Linked DNA regions of Homo sapiens: region 2 is linked to region 1. The links are contacts of gene promoters, found by promoter capture Hi-C in blood cells and fetal thymus (Javierre and others, 2016). All regions are on one chromosome and are shown on one strand. The core of a region is centred on a gene start or on the middle of the fragment in contact, and the rest is flanking DNA. Distances in the headings are between cores, read along the strand shown.

The links. Contacts are between HindIII fragments. The CHiCAGO score rates a contact against its expected background, and 5 or more counts as called.
Region 2: a fragment that was not itself captured here is called in contact with the fragment with the promoter of FBXO21 in region 1 in 1 of 17 cell types (non-activated CD4 T cells); the score reaches 5.3 in non-activated CD4 T cells.

The regions. Positions count from the first base shown.
Region 1 is chr12:117,186,920-117,192,081 of GRCh38, forward strand. FBXO21 (F-box protein 21) reads right to left here and starts at 3,551. Exons shown (of 12, transcript NM_015002.3): 1 at 3,299-3,551; 2 at 2,308-2,443. The coding sequence starts at 3,537. RefSeq lists an enhancer at 2,678-2,767 and silencers at 3,238-3,287, 3,568-3,667, 3,708-3,767. The HindIII fragment of the contact is 6,345 bases long and covers 2,279-5,162 here.
Region 2 is chr12:118,017,139-118,022,068 of GRCh38, forward strand. It overlaps RFC5 (replication factor C subunit 5), which reads left to right. Exons shown (of 11, transcript NM_007370.7): 2 at 1,934-1,998; 3 at 2,494-2,630; 4 at 3,768-3,847. Among named protein-coding and RNA genes, the nearest start is that of RFC5, 2.9 kb to the left of the region's middle. The HindIII fragment of the contact is 6,314 bases long and covers 1-4,930 here.

The sequences.
Region 1 (5,162 bases), core at 2,301-4,800:
AGTTTGAGACCAGCCTGATCAACGTGGTGAAACCCCATGTCTACTAAAAATACAAAATTAGCCAGGCATGCCTGTAATCCCAGCTACTTGGGAGGCTGAGGCAGGAGAATCACTTGAACCCGGGAGGCGGAGGTTACAGTGAGCCAAGATTGCGCCATTGCACTCCAGCCTGGGCAACAAGAATGAAACTCCGTTTTAAAAAAAATAAAAAGGCGGCGGCGGCAGGTGCAGTGGCTCACGCCTGTAATCCCAGCACTTCGGGAGGCTGAGGTGGGCGGATCACCTGAGGTCAGGAGCTCGAGACCAGCCTGACCAACATAGAGAAACCCCATCTCTACTAAAAATACAAAATTAGCCAGGCGTAGTGGCGCATGCCAGTAATCCCAGCTACTCGGGAGGCTGAGGCAGGAGAATCACTTGAACCTGGGAGGCAGAGGTTGCGGTAAGCTGAGATCACACCATTGCACTCCAGCCTGGGCAACAAGAGTGAAACTCTGTCTCAAAAAAAAAAAAAAAAAAAAAAAAAAGATCTTCTGAGTTTAAAATTCTATGGCTTCTCTCAGTTTTCTTTTTGCAAGTAGCCAGAACATTTCAGGTCAACCTGTGTGCATTCTGAGAACACAGGAACGCCAAGATCCCGGGCCAAAGCAATCACCCACCCACAGATTAATGTTAAGTATGCTCCCGCTGTGTTCAAAGTCCTTGACATACTTCTAATTAAGCAGTGGTACAGGAAAAGGGGGAGCTGAGGAAAAAACACAACAATCCATCATTATTACACAGAGGCACAGACTGTTCAAAACATACACAAAACCAGCTGGACTAGAAATGGAGGTTGCAGGCTCATAGTCCATGACCAACTGCACCAAACATAGCTAGTACCAAAATCTACGTATGTGCAAACACATTCAGATCAGCATTTACAATTTGTGATTATGAATGCTTTTAGCCAGGGCATGGCTTCTCCAAAGTAAAATACAAATTTTGTTTATTCTAACACTAATAAATATTTATAGAAACCAATTACACTAAGGAATGTCTATTTGTATTCTCCATAGGGGAAAACATTCAAATTTGTCCAAAGTTCAAATTTTCCCTTTCAAAACTTGAAAAGCCTTGAAAACATTTCAAATTATTAACTCCATTAACTAACAGTAATTAAAATTAGAGAATCCAAAGGAGTCTTTAGGAAAACAAAAAAGTGAAATAAATCAGATTGGCTCTATTTCTAGAACCCCAACCAGAAATAAATATCGAATAGTTTGTTGAACTCAAAACATTAGTGTGGATTATTTTCCAGAGTTACAAAAAGGGATCAGGGGCAGATACAGAAACTTCCGTGAGGCCAGGCACGGTGGCTCACGCCTGTAATCCCAACACTTTGGTTTGCAGAGGCCGGCGGATCACTTGAGACCAGGTGTTCAAGACCAGCCTGACCAACATGGTGAAACCCCAACTCTACTAAAAATACAAAAATTATCCAGGTATGGTGGCGCATGCCTGTAGTCCCGGCTACTCGGGAGGCTGAGACATGAGAATTGCTCGAGCCCAGGAGTAGGAGGTTGCAGTGAGCTGAGATTGCGCCACTGCACTCCAGCCGGGGAGACAAAGCAAGACTCTGTCTCAAAAAAAGAAAAAAGAAAGAAACTTCCATGAGACATTTTGAGGAAAGAAAAAAAGAAAACAAAACAAAACAAAACAAAAAAAACCCACCATGTATTTCTGCAATACTTAAAAAAAAAAAAAAACCCAAAAACTTTTCAGGGATAATGAATGCAAGACAATTCATTTCAGGGAGTAATAACTCTGATTTATAGGTAGCTTTTAATCCTCTGTTACCTTAACAAATAATGCAGTTCACTACTGGGTAGAACCTGCAAAGCCAGAGAGAAGAACCACATTAATTTCGTCAACCCTTCTGGGAAAACAACCGGGAGAAATTTACAGTGTTCAATCATTGATGATTCCCCAAATAACGGAGGGGTTGCAAAAAAAATCCGTTGAACCCATTTGAGAAATAATGCTGATCTGGACTCCGTCTACATTGTGCTGCGTGGGTCCCTCCCTGCTCCCTCCACCCCCACTCTCTCTCTGGCTTTAGAAAAGTAAAGCTGGCACAGACAAATGGCTTCGTGTTGTTGGATAGGAGGAAAAGGACACAATGACTCTTGCAGCCATCTAAGTGAGTAAGGGATTGTGAGAGCATTGAAAAGGGAGATACGAAAAGAGCTGGATGAGCTCATGCCTGCAGACCCAGACACATACACCAGCAAGCCAAAGCTTAGAGCCACATCAACAGATCCTTACGTGCTCTGAAAAGAACCTCTTTGAGAACGAGGCTACAATCTTCCGCGCTTCTAACCCAGCTTTTTGCCGAACTTTATACTCTTCCAACCAATTGACGTAGTCGGTGGGGCTGTAGTGTTTCATAAGGGAAGGCCACCTACGAGGAGAGAAACACCCCCTCAGCTTAACAGAAACTCAAAGGCAGGCGGCCACGAATCCAAGGCAGCCTTGGAAACAGGGACAGCAGTGGCGTCCAGTGGTAAGAGGGACCCCGGCGAGAGACCTAGTTCAAAACCCCACCAGCATTCACTCACTCACTCCCGGTGTGACCTTGGCGTAGCGGCATGAATGATGTCTCCATTCCCCATCTCTAAAATGGGGACAGTTGTAACAACAACAACAATAATAATAATGACAATGACAGTGAGCACTGATTGAGCGCCTCCTAGGAGCCGGGGCCCTGCGTGCGTGCCTCCCGGACATCATCTAATTTAATAAACACGGTGAAAGGTAGGTCTAATGATCACCACCACTCAAAGTCTATGAACGAGGCTCAAAAAAAGGGAAGTCGCTCCCCCCAAGGTCACAGAGGGAGTGTGCAGGGCCAGATTTCATCCTGGGGCCACGCTGAAATCTGTGCCGTCCACAACCAGCCCGGGGATGCTGCGCCCGCCCGATCGATGCATCACTGGGTCCATGTAAACATTTCAGCCCGAAGTCGGGCACAAAAGAAGCGCGCAAAAGGGACGAGCCGCGCCGCCGCCAGCGTCACCCTTGACGGAGGACCCGGCTGCGAGGCGCTCCTAGATGCGCCATTTGGGGACCCGGGGGTCCGCCTGGCGTGGCCCCGCAGGGTCCGGGGCCTGGAGGCCTTTGTCTGTCTGTCCGCGGGAAGGGGTCCGGGGTGGGGTCCGCGCGCGGGGCGGCCGCGGGGAGCTAGCGGGGCGGCTGCCCGGCCCCGGGGGGCGCGGGGCGGTGGGCGCGCAGCCGGGGCGCGGGGCCGCTGGCTCACCTCACCCGGAACTGCTCCTTCCACACCTTCCCGCTGCTCTGGCACAGCTCGCGCAGCCGCCGGCAGGTGCTGGAGACACGGCCGATGTCGGCGGCCGTCAGCGAGCCGCAGCACAGGATGTACTCCAGCACCTCACCCGGCAGGTTGACGAGGCAGCTGAGGCCCGCTACCTCCGGCGCGGCCTCCTCCGCCAGCGCCGGCACCACCTCCATCGCGCTGTCGACTGCTGCCGCCGCCATCTTGTCCGCGTACCTGGGGCCGCCGCGCGCGCGCGTGCGAGAGTGCCCGGGCGCCCCGCCTGGCCCCGCCTACTGGTCTTGGGGGCGAGTCCTGAGATCGCTCCGCCCATCCGCGGGCCACACCTCCCCTGCATCGGCTGGGGGCTGCGCGGGTGGCAGCGCCGCAAAAGGGAGGACATAATTGGGCTCTGTGCTTGGAGCCGGCAGCGCAAGCCGCCTCTAGTCCGGGACAACAATAGTAGCACTGATTCTTTTAAACGTAATTAATGTTTAAAATTAACAAATAAAAATGGTATCTATTCTCACGCGTGCTGAGCGCTTTCTGTGCGCATTGGACCTTTCCGAATTACCCTGCGAACTTTCTCCCCATATTACAGATGGGGAAACAGGTTCGGAGAGTGAGAGGGCTTGCTCAGGATCCCTTGTCTTGGATTTTTTTTCCCCCTTTGGGAAGGAGTCTTGCTCTCACCCAGGCTGGAGGGCAGTGGCGCTATCTCGGCTCACTGCAACCTCTGCCTCCTGGGTTCAAGCGATTCTCCTGCCTCAGCCTCCCGTGCGGATGGGATTACAGGCGCGCGCCACCACCCAGGTTGGAGTGCAGTGGCCGTGATCTCGGCTCACTGCAACTTCCACCTCCCTGGTTCAAGCAATTATCCTGCGTCAGCCTCCCGAGTAGCTGGGATTACAGGCGCCCGCCACCACAGCCAGCTAATTTTTGTATTTTTAGTAGAGACAGGGTTTCACCATGTTGGTCAGGCTGGTCTCGAACTCCTGACCTCAAATGATCCACCCACCTCGGCCTCCCAAAGTGCTGGGATTACAGGCGTGAGCCACCGCGCCCAGCCCCTTGTCTTGGATTCTATTTCAGATCCACTTGACTTTTGCTTGTCAGTAATCTTAACCATATGATGTAATAATAACAATATTCTTGAGTGGGTGCTATGGGAAGCCCTCTATGATGGTGTAGGGGAGTAATAATAATCCTCAAATGTGTGCCCTGATTTTAGGCTAATAGAGGGCAGGCAGAGAGCTCTCCTGTACTGGTTTCTTAATTGTTTCCAGCTCAACAATCCTTCATATTTGGGGAGCATAGTCTGACCTCCCACAATAGGTACCACAGTTATACCTATTCTACAGAAAAGGCAAAGTTCTTCCAGGTGGCAGTCACTGGTTCAAAGTTACAGAGACAAAAGTGCTAAAGCCTGGATTTGAGTCTTCAAAGCGGGAGTTATCACTCAGGATTGGGAGGGTAGTCTCAGGATCTGCACATTAAAAAAAAAAAATCAGTTTAGTTCAGTGCCAAAGCCCTGTGTTGTGTGCCCTGGGGATACAGGGGTGAGAAAAATGGAGTCTTTGCTTCAAAACCTCAAAGTGCAATTACAGTTAGAAGGATCTGTTGTCAGTACATGGAGGGTCCAATGAAGTACTCCTGGCAACTTGGAAATCAAGATGCCCTGAGAGAGCTGAACTAGTAAAGTGACTCTCAATGGATGGCGTTGAGCCATCTGTGGCTCCCTATTTCCCGTAGAAATGAATGTGACATCCCAAACATTGTTGCAAAGCAACAAACTCCACCTCTTCTTACCTATCTGAAGTCTTTCTCTCTCACTAGCCATGCATACCCC
Region 2 (4,930 bases), core at 1,215-3,714, 830 kb after region 1:
GCGGCTTTCGCACCTGGTGACAGCACAGGGGTTCGATCCCGCGTCTCCTGACGCCTGCAATGGCCTCCATGCCAAAATGCCCTCTTCCCACTCTTCAAAACCTGCGATGCGACTATTGGTCACATTTTAAACTAGTAATAACGCTCCCTGGTCAACTTTTATTGAATGGCATATTATTAGATTAGCAGACGCCCTGTTAGATGTTCGATCCTTACAAAGACCGTAGGAGGTAGGCACCGCTTCAAATTTTACACAGGAGGAAACTGCATTTTAGAAAGATGTAATGACTTCCCTATGGTCCAAGGGAGAAAATTGGCTTGGAGGTGAATCTAGGAAGTCTGAATTCAGATCTTGTACTCTTAACCATCCTACTTAAACAGCTATGTTCTCGCAATGCTTCCAAGACTTTGAAGCAATTTGGCTTGGCTTCGAAAAGCTGCAAGTTGTCATTGTCTAGTAACTAGTTCAATTTGTCTTTATTGTGGTTAAAAAAAACCCAGAAGATTGACAGTTGTAACTATTTTATGTATTTACGTATTTTTTTTTTTTAGAGACAGGGTCTCGCTCTGTCGCCCATGCTGGAGCGCAGTGGTGTGATCACAGCTCAGTGTAACCTCAAACATTGGGGTTCAAGCCATTCTCCTGCCTCAGCCTCCGAAGAACTGGGACTTTTAGAGGCGAGCTACCAAGCCCATCCTGTAACCATTTTAAAATGTACAATTCAGTGGCATTAAGTACATTCAGAATGCAGTGTACTGTTGTGGAGTCTTCCCGCTATCTAGTTCCAAAATTTCATCACCCCAAATGGAAATCCTTTACCCATTGACAGTTACTCCCCATTCTCCCCTTCCTCTAGCCCCTGGCAACCACTAATCTGCTTTCTATCTATGGATTTGCCTATTCTGGACATTTCATGTAAGTGGAATCCTACACTATGTGGCCTTTTGTGTCTGGTTTCTTTCACTCAGGATCATGTTTTCAAGGTTCATGCATGTTGCTGCTTGTATCAGTAGTTAATTTCTTGTTATGGCTGAATCATATTCCATTGTATGGACAGAAGAGATTTTACCTATCCATTCTTCTGTTGAAGTCTATTTGGGTAGGAGTTCAGTTTCAAATGCACTTTGCAATAGTAGGTGCCCATCAGGTTGAGATTATAGGCAAACAGCTGGAAAGATGAAGTTAGAACAGAGTTTTCAACCTCAGCACTATTGACATTTTGGGCCAGATACTCTGGGTGGGTTTAGGGGAGCTGTCCTGTGCACTGTAGCATGTTTAACAGCATTCCTGGAGACTACACACTGAGTGCCATAGGACCCTCTGCCCACCTGTGACAACTAAGTATGTTTCTAGATATCACTAGATGTTCCTAGGAAGACAAAATCACCTGTGGTTGGGAACCACTGGTCTGTTCAAACTTAAAGTGCTTTCTTATTCTTCCTTTTTAAATTAGGATATGAAAGGATTCTGTTTTTTTTTTTAAGACAAGGTCTCACTCTGTCGCCCAGGCTGGAGTGCTGGAGTGCAGTGGTGCAATCTCGGTTCACTGCAACCTCCGCCTCCCGGGTTCCAGCAATTCTCCCACCCCAGCCTTCGGGGTAGCTGGGGCTACAGGGGTATGCCACCATGCCCAGCTAATTTTTGTATTTTTTGGTATTTTTTATTGAATGGCATATTATCGGGTTAGCAGACACCCTGTTAGTTGTTCTATCCTTACAAAGACCCTAGGAGGTACCCATAGAGACAGGGTTTTGCCATGTTGGCCGGGCTGGTTGGTCTTGAACTCCTGACCCCAAATGATCCACCCACCTTGGCCTCCCAAAGTGCTGGGATTACAGGCATGAGCCACTGTGCCTGACCTGCAAGGATTCTTTTGCACATAAAATATTCTTGCATTTATATATGTCATAATACATACTAAATTGTATTTCAGGGTTGAAAAATACCGGCCACAGACCCTGAATGATCTCATTTCTCATCAGGACATTCTGAGTACCAGTAAGTATTCATGTGTCAGTTGCTCTTGTCCTGCTTGAGCGACTTGTATAAATTGCTTGGTGATGTTGTCTCTCCTAAGTAATAACTTCAAAGAATCTGATTGCGCTTTGTAGAATGTGGCTTTAAGATCATTCATTCATTTTCTTCAGGTTGCTACAGTCCAGTGGGTAAGTCACAAACATGAGCATAAAATTGCAACACAGTGGAGTAAAAATAGCATTACGGAGAATCATTTAAGTTCACAGATGTTGCCAGCACCCAGAAAGGTGCCTGTAACACAGTAGGCACTCAATAAATACTTGTTGACTGGCTGCGCTATTGAGTGAATTCCAGTTGTTCCACGAAAGTAGATATGAGGCCCCTACATCAAGTTGTATCTGCCTCTGATTTGGACATTGAATTGGGTTGAAGAGCTTTCAGCCCAACTCAGGAGCCCAGGGTGAATGAGGCAGCTCCCAAAGACTGATGGTGCCCTTCTTCCTTCCTGATCCTCAGTTCAGAAGTTTATCAATGAAGACCGACTGCCACACTTGCTTCTCTACGGTCCCCCAGGGACAGGCAAGACATCTACCATCCTAGCCTGTGCGAAACAGCTATATAAAGACAAAGAATTTGGCTCCATGGTCTTGGAGGTAAATAAGATTGTTCTTACTCTACAAATAACTTAAGAGACTCCAGTCTCTTAATTTCAGTTCTGCTGGTTTTATTTTACTTTAAAAGTAAGTTGCCCCACGGACAGTTAGGAAAGAAGTAAATTTGAATATTTTAATTCCCTTTTTCCTATAATGGTCATTTTGGTCTGGATTAGCGTTGGTCAGCTAGAGGGCAGTTGTAGGGTTTGGCACCTTTTTCTTTGCTCTTGCCAACTTCTCCCCAAACCTTACTTTATGGTGACTTGGTTGCTGCCTGTCTGCCATGGCCCCTCTAGATCAATTCTCCACGTTTCTCCACCATATTCCTGCCTGGAAGGCTGAGCCCTACTGACTATAAGCTCACTTACCCTCTGGCTCCTGGTTGGGTTTGGCCAATAGGGGCCTTGGCAGGGGTGGGGGAAGGAAGTGAGTGATGCCTGGGCCTTCCCTGGGGGCTGACACAGGCTGGCAGCATGGCCCACCTGTAGGGTACATCTCACAGGTGGTACCTTTCCTGCAGCCCTCTCCAGGTGCCTACAGCCACTCCCTTCACTAAGCCCTTCAGGCTCAAGGGTGACAGGTATTGCATAGCCCCATGGTTTTCCTATATCACACCTTTAAAAAGATCTTGTTTAATTCTCTTCAAATTGCTGCATTTGAGTATGCCATCTGTATATTGCTGGGACCTTGACTAATATACTTAGATTCAAAAATCTGAGTATTGTCTATTGCAAGAAAAGTTTAACTTACTTTTTAGACGCAGGTCTCAGAACTTTGCTGCTACTAATGTCCTTATTTCAGTTTATTAAGAACTTGGTAACTTAGGATTGTGGTAGCTGAAATTTGTATCATTCTGCTCATACCAGAGGTGCTGTTCAGTGTAACCATACCAATTAATTATTTCTCCAATTTATGTCAGTCATTGTCCTCAAAGGGTGGGGGTAATATAGCCATCTTTATTAATTTAGTGAATTTTGTGTAAAACTGATTTTTTATTTTATGATGATCTCTTAGCCATCATTAGACATAGAGAGCTAGCCTGCTGAGCTGGACTGATGAGGAAATACACTAACACCAAGAACTCACAGATAGCACAGCAACATGGTTTTTGTTTTGTCTTCTGTCTTCCACATTTAGCTGAATGCTTCAGATGACCGAGGAATAGACATCATTCGAGGACCGATCCTGAGCTTTGCTAGCACAAGGACAATATTTAAGTAAGAATTATTTGTGTAATTTCGCTCCCTTGATTTTGATTAGTAAGATGATATGGGTTAATTTTTTAATCCTCTCCTTAGCCAGTTTATATGGGTTGAAAAAAAAAGTGACTTTGTCCAAAGCAACCATGGAAAAGAGATAAACGAGAGGGATGGTAGTAAGAAGCGTTATAATGCAACTGTTAAAATAAAATGTTATCTACGCTTGTATTAGCAAGTTTGTTTTTTTTTTCTTTTTTTTTTGGAGACAGGGTCGCCCTGTATCGTACAGGCTGGAGTGCAGTAGCATGATCTCGGCTCACTGCAACCTCCACCTCCTGGGTTCAAGCGATCTTCCAGCCTCAGCCTCCTAAGTAGCTGGGACTACAGTCGTGAGCCATCACGCCCAACTAATTTTTGTATTTTTTAGTAGACATGGGGTTTTGCCATGTTGCCTAGGCTGGTCTCGAACTCCTGAGCTCAAGCAATCTGCCCGCCGCAGCCTCCCAAACTGCTGGGATTACATACGTGAGCCCAGCCTGCATTACCAAGTTCTTTAGGGAGCATTAACTTCATTTTTAGTTCCTGAGAACTGGCTAGATTACCCTAAGACTGGATGAGCTAGTTTGAATTTAAAAATAAATTGAGATCAGGAAGGACAACTAGGATGGTGGCTAAAAAAAAAAAAAGAAAGAAAGAAAAAGGGTGAGGGCCGGGCGCAGTGGCTCACACCTGTAATCCTAGGACTTTGGGAGGCCTAGGCAGGTGGATCACCTGAGATCAAGGGTTCAAGACCAGCATGGCCAACATAGTGAAACCTCGTCTCTACTAAAAATACAAAAATTATCTGGGCATGGTGGTGGGCGCCTGTAATCCCAGCCACTCAGGAGGCTGAGGCAGGAGAATCGCTTGAACCCAGGAGGCAGAGGTTGCAGCGAGCCAAGATCGCGGCACTGCACTCCAGCCTGGGCAACAGAGCAAAAACTTAGTCTCAAAAAAAGCAAAAGGGTGAGGGACTCAGGCATGAGTGAGGGAGACGGGAAAAGCAGTAGCATGGTAGGGTGCCATGTGGAGGAAAGTGAAGATGCCAGAGGACACAGCGCA